Regions from separate parts of the Homo sapiens genome. Here region 1 is linked to region 2. Evidence: promoter capture Hi-C in 16 types of primary human blood cells and fetal thymus (Javierre and others, 2016). All regions are on one chromosome and are shown on one strand. Each heading gives the region's core, a stretch centred on a gene start or on the middle of the fragment in contact. The rest is flanking DNA. Distances are from core to core; before and after follow the strand shown.

Region 1 (3,439 bases), core at 394-2,893, 290 kb before region 2:
TTTATTTTTACTATCTCAACACTAACAACAAAAGTTATGTTGGCATAGGTAATACTTGGCTAAATATGTAAAACTTCTACATCTAAACTGACTTTTCCAGCCAGACGTGGTGGCTCTTGCCTATAATCCCAGCACTTTGGGAGGCTAAGGTCAGAGGATTGCTTGGACCCAGGTGTTTGAGACCAGCCTGGGCAAAATAGGGAGACCTCATCTCTACAAAATATAAAAACTTAGCCGAGTGTGGTGGCGTGCACCTGTGGCATGCCAGGAGAATTGCTTGAGCCTGGGAGGTCAAGGCTGCAATGAGTCATGATCACGCCACTGCACTCCAGCCTTGGGTACAGAGTGAGACCCAGTCTCAAAAAAAATAAAAATAAAAAATAAACTGGCTTTTACCCCTTGACGTTTGAATATGGTAAAAATCCTTATAGTCCTGAAACAAACAAGCAAACAAATGAACAAACCTTTCTTCACTCTAGTAGAATAATTAACTAGAGTGAAGAAAGTTTTTTCATTTCCTCTCTCATTTTTTCTTTGCAGCCAATTGTCTTTATATTATTTTTTACCATTCTTTATGAAAACACTACCATGTATGTTTTAATCAGGATATAAATTGCCTTTGACAAGTAACTTAATTGCCAAATCCAGTGGATATTTTTATTTCATACTTAATGTCTGTAGTATTTGTTACTGCTCTTATCTCTTGGTTCCTGTATACCTGAAGGCTGGGCGTGATGTCTCATGCCTGTAATCCCAGCACTTTGGGAGGCTGAGGTGGGTGGATCGGATCACCTGAGGTCAGGAGTTCCAGACCAGCCTTGCCAGCCTGGCGAAACCCTGTCTCTACTAAAAAATGCAAAAATTAGCTGGGTGTGGTGGCATGCACCTGTAATCCCAGCTACTCGGGAGGCTGAGGCAGGAGAATTGCTTGAACCCGGGAGGCGGAGGTTGCAGTGAGCCGAGATCGTGCCACTACACTCCAGCCTAGGTGACAGAGCAAGACCCTGTCTCCAAAAAATATATATATATATATGTGTGTGTATATGTGTGTATATATATATATATATATATATATATATATATATATATATGCACACACACACACACACACACACTAGCGGGCATGGTGGTGCACACCTGTAGTTCTAGCTACTACAGAGGCAGAGGCAGGAGGATCACTTGGAGGCAGGAGGATCACTTGAACCCAGGAGGTGGGGGTTGCAGTGAGCCGAGATTGCAACACTGCACTCAAGCCTGGGCTACAGAGTGAGACTCTGTCTCAACAAAAAAAAGAAAAAGAAGACTGAGACTGGGTGATTTATAAAGAAAAGAGATTTAATTGGCTCAGAGTTCCACAGGCTCTACAGGAAGCACGGCTGGGGAGGCCTCAGGAAACTTACGATCATGGCGGAAGCCAAAAGGGAAGCAGGCACGTCTTCACATGGTCAAAGCAAGAGGAAGGAGCAGGGAGGTGCCACACACTTTTAAACAACTAGATCTCCTGAGAACTCTATTACAAGAACAGCATTAAAGGAAGAAATCCACCCCCATGATCCAGTTACCTCCCACTAGGCCCCACCTCCAAAATTGGGGATTACAGTTGAACATGAGATTTGGACGGGGACACAAAATCAAACCATATCAGCTCCTGTGATACTACATGTTCCCAATTTTCGTCTTCTCTGATTTCTTCTTCTAAGTCTCTTAATTATTATAGCTATTATCCAACTTCTGTTATCAGCCCCTGTTTTTCTGTTCTGTGCTCTCCTTGGGTGACTTCATGTCTATATACTGGTGACTTCTTATTTGTATTTCCAGGCCATCACTTTCTTTTAAGCACTGTGTACCGTGTACATATGTGTATGTATCTATACACTTTCATATAACCAGCTGCCTTGAATTGATGCACTTGGATACCCTAAACGCACTTCAAATATGACATGTTTAAAACTGAACTTACCATCTTCTCCCTGCCTTCTGTACTATAAATTCCCATTGTTTATTATCTTCCACTTCTCTATTGTCAAAAATTTGTTATCATGGAATACAAATTATACTTAATTCTCAAAATTACTTCAAGAGAGGAATATTTTTAAAGTTAACTCATATATTCATATAAAGTATGCATTAAATACACAGTCTATAAGAACTTTGGATACTCATTAAAAGCACTCAACACATTTCTTGTTTCAGTCCTATTTTATTAGGAATTTTTGCTGTGGAATTTGAATGTTAAAGGGCCCAGTTATTAATAAAGCTGTCATCCTAGATATTCAGTGAAATTGGAAGAGTTAGATGAAATCCTTTTTCGGGCCAAACTCAATTGTTTTAACTTAAAAAAAAATTCATTCAGTTTAAGATAAAATAATGCTTCCTTAATAAAACTAAAAACAAAAAGCATCTTTAGAAGCTGTGTAGCGTACTTTATTTATTTATTTATTTAGAGACAGGGTCTCACTCTGTTGCCCAGGCTGGAGTGCAGTGGCACAGTCTCAGTTCATTGCAACCTCCGCCTCCCGGGTTAAAGCGATTCTCCTGCCTTAGCCTCTTGAGTGACTGAGACTACAAGTGTGGACCACCACGCCTGGCTAATTTTGGTATTTTTTTGGTAGAGACAGAGTTTCACCATATTGGCTAGGCTGTTCTGTTGACCATGAGGCACCATACCTGGACTGTGTAGCAGACTTAAAAAAATAAGATTTGAAGTTAGAACTTAAGGCTTTGGGCCAATTAATAGTTTTGTTTGTTTGTTTGCGGCGGAATCTCGCTCTTTCACCCAGGCTGGAGTGCAGTGGCGCGATCTTGGCTCACTGCAACCTCTGCCTCTTGGGTTTAAGGAGTCCTCCTGCCTCAGCCTCCTAAGTAGCTGGGACTACAGGCGCATGCCACCACACCTGGCTAATTTTTGTATTTTTAGTAGAGATGGGGTTTCCCCATGTTGGCCAGGCTGTTCTCAAACTCTTGACTTCAGGTAATCCTCCTGACTCAGCCTCCCAAAGTGCTGGGATTACAGGCGTGAGCCATCACGCCCAGCCCCAGTTAATGGTTGTGTTACCTTGAGCAATTCACTTAATCTCTGAGACTCAGTTTGCTCATTTGTAAAATGGTGATCATCATAATATATACCTCTTATAGTTATTAGGAAATTAAATGGTAATGTATATATAAAGCATAAGCATAATGTTTGATGTGTATTAAATACTCAAATGTAGCTCCTGTTATTATCAGAGGACTCCTTACACTGTAAATACATGCTACAAAAATTTTAGAATGCACTTTATCAGGCATTTTAGTACAAATAAGCAAAACAGTTGATCTTGTAGACTAATTTTGAAGTTTCATATTGGTTCCAGTTCAAGCACTGTATATAAAATATCCAGAATAATTCACTATATTAATTAGTTTAATACTGTCTTAGTCTATTCAGGCTGCTCTAATA
Region 2 (3,053 bases), core at 103-2,602:
ACAAAAGAGAAAACCCCCAAGCCCCGTCCCCGCCAAACTGTAGAACAGTAACTCCAGAGTTCAAATTCAAAAGAAGAGAAAGTGGCAATTGAAAGAGGTGATGGTGGCGATAATCCTATGAATGGGTTTTTGATTTCTCTCCTTCCAGGGGATGGGTGGAGAATGCTCATTAAGATTTGTAGTTAGAGGTTAACCATGTGAGCCCCTCATAGAGTCCGTCCCCTGAGGTGGCACAGGAGGGCTGCACATACCAGTTCCTGTCCCGAATCCGGGTCAGGCCCAGTTTCTCCTGGATCTCGTGGGGTTTCATGGCATCGGGCAGGTCCTGCTTGTTGGCGAAGATGAGGATTATGGCGTCCCTCATCTCCCGGTCATTGATAATGCGGTGCAGCTCCTGGCGAGCCTCATCGATGCGGTCGCGGTCGGCGCAGTCCACTACGAAGATGAGACCTTGGGTCCCAGTGTAGTAATGCCGCCAGAGCGGCCGGATCTTGTCCTGGCCGCCCACATCCCATACGTTGAACTTGACATTTTTGTAAGTCACCGTCTCCACGTTGAAACCCACAGTGGGAATGGTGGTCACCGACTGGCCCAGCTTCAACTTGTACAGGATTGTTGTCTTGCCGGCCGCGTCCAGGCCCAACATGAGGATCCGCATTTCCTTGTTCCCGAAGATTTTGGATAGCACCTTCCCCATCGCGTCGGAGGAGCCGGGGCCGGGGGCATTCAGGTGTCCCGGGTCCCCTCAGCCAACAACGCCGCCGCCGCCGCGAAACCGAAACGAAGCCTCTCGGCCGCGAGAGCGCCTTTGCGGCCTGCGTGGGAGTTGCCTCCTAAGGGCAGAGGCCCAGGCCCCCCGCTCACTCGGGCATCACCGACCGCACAACTTGATTTCTCCAGTCGCCGCCGCCACCCGGGCCCTGAGACTGCGCTGGGAGCCGCCGCCCTGCTGAGGCGCGGCCCGGCCCGGAACTGCCCTTCCCCCCGCAGGCGCCGCGCGAGCGCCGCCGCGGTTCCCGCTCCTCCGCCTTCCTCTCACCGCGAGGGAGACTGCAGCCCTCCGGCCCGCCCGCCGGCCTGCGAGCACTGGGCTCCCCACCGACCCAGGACACCCGAGAGGCAGCGCGGCTCCGGGGCCCCGTCAGGTCATGGATCCTCGCGGGAACTCGGTGCGCTGCCTGCAGAGAAACAGAGAGGGAGGGGAGTTACTGCCAGAGCTCCACAAAGGAGCGAAGACCGAGGTGGCCCGCCTTTCCAGCTCGGCCCAAGGGGTTACCTCCAGCCGCCGCCCCGAGCGCGGGCTCCCTCCGGCCTCCAACTCCTCCTCCCAGTTCTGCCGCCGCCGCTGCCGGAAAAGGCGCCGAGGAAACCGCCTCACTTCCCCTCCCGACCACGCAGGCGCAGCAGAGGCCGACCGTTCGGACAAGAGCGACCTCTGTAAGGAGAGCGGCCCGCGCGCCTAGCGTCATGGGCGCCACGCGCCGGAGGGGCGGGGCTACGGCGCCTCGGAGGGCTCGCAGATGCGGCCGGCCCAGAGCCCTCGAACCTCGGACTCTGACTCGCGCCTACCCGTGGCTCTTCTAGCGTCTCCTTCCCTGCTTTTCTCTTTTGCGCTCTGCCCTCCCCTGCCCACCCGAACCAAGGGAGCAGATCTACTGGGGGGCCCTACAGGGTGGGGCCCACGGGCAGCCCGCTCTCTCCACGAACCGAGCTGCCTCCAGGCCTGTTCCCAGACCTCGGTGCCCGCCAGATGCTCTGCGAATTCCCTCCGCCCGCCCCAGCCTTCCCGCACCCTCCGCGCTCCCTGAACGTCCCAGGGAAGCTCTGTTCGCTTTTGTTTTTTTTTTTTTTCCCTTTTTCGCAACCCCTTCTTGGCTTCCTTTATCCCTTGAATTTTGTATGTTTCCTGAAAGACACGTGGGAGGCCAGTGTCTCGTGTGGAATCTGCCAGTCAGTGCAGCGCTTTCCCGGAGTTGAGTTTACTCTGCAGCTCTTTTGAATGTTTGAGCCCTGTCTGCCTATAGGTCTCGTCAAGACCAGCCCATGTTTCTTAAAAACTGCAGTATTATGAAGAGTTCCTGTGCCTTGCCGCGTTTTCACCTTTTTAGAATGCGACATCTGTTCATCTTTAAAATATCATTTTATCTCATACTGTTAGTAGTAGCTTCTTAACTACTACCCATTCTTAACTTTAAGAAGCATAGAATTTAGAATATAGAACGACCGCTTGTATGGCCTGGATCTGGGCACTTAACCTTACTAAGTTTATCTCGTGTAAACTGACCTTGCTAACTCACGTGAGGCTTAAATAATACAATGTGGAAGACTTCAGGGCACATTTTTGGTTTTTTGGTTTTTGTTTGTTTCTTGAGACGGGGTCTCACTCTGTCGCCCAGGCTGGAGTCCAGTTGCACAATCTCGGCTCACTGCAGCCTCCTCATCCTGGGTTCAAGCAGTTCTGCCTTAGCCTCCGGAGCAGCTGGAATTAGGTCGCCCACCACCACGCCCGGCTAATTTTTGTATTTTTAGTAGAGACGGGGTTTCACCATGTTGGCCAGGCTGGTCTCGAAGTCCTGACCTCAGGTGATCCACCCGCCTCGGCCCCCCAAAATGCTGGGATTACAGGCGTGAGCCACTGCGCCCTGCCAAGGACACATTTTTGTATCAAATGGTTAATGATAAAATTAGACTTAAAATAACGTGAAACCTTCAAATATCAAGGGGAGAAAAACAGGAAATGGGTATCTTTGTTTAAAAAGCAAGATGCTATAAACAGCATATGGTAACATACTGTTTTTATTAAACAAATTTAAAATATTAGATAATGGTAGATAGGTTATATGATAACCTTATAAACGTCATTTCAGTCGGAAATAAACTTATTAAACATTAATATTCTAACAATTATTTCATTTACTTTCCATTTACCTTAAGATGAAGCACTGTCATAAAACTGAAAAGCTTAGGAGTCTGAAGATTGGGGTTCAAGTGTCATCCCCAACCCCACCTCTCTATTTTTGGGACAAGGTCTCGCTCTGTCACCAAGGCTGCAG

The links. Contacts are between HindIII fragments. The CHiCAGO score rates a contact against its expected background, and 5 or more counts as called.
Region 1: a fragment that was not itself captured here is called in contact with the fragment with the promoter of ARF6 in region 2 in 1 of 17 cell types (non-activated CD4 T cells); the score reaches 5.6 in non-activated CD4 T cells.

Annotation. Positions count from the first base shown.
Region 1 is chr14:50,176,324-50,179,762 of GRCh38, reverse strand. All of the region lies in intron 7 of SOS2 (SOS Ras/Rho guanine nucleotide exchange factor 2), which reads left to right. Among named protein-coding and RNA genes, the nearest start is that of SOS2, 54 kb to the left of the region's middle. The HindIII fragment of the contact is 5,834 bases long and covers 1-3,439 here.
Region 2 is chr14:49,891,381-49,894,433 of GRCh38, reverse strand. It overlaps ARF6 (ARF GTPase 6), which reads right to left and starts at 1,352. Exons shown (of 2, transcript NM_001663.4): 1 at 1,277-1,352; 2 at 1-1,178. The coding sequence starts at 697. The coding sequence ends at 170. RefSeq lists enhancers at 423-472, 503-822, 1,693-1,792 and silencers at 983-1,172, 1,213-1,602. The HindIII fragment of the contact is 6,329 bases long and covers 1-2,963 here.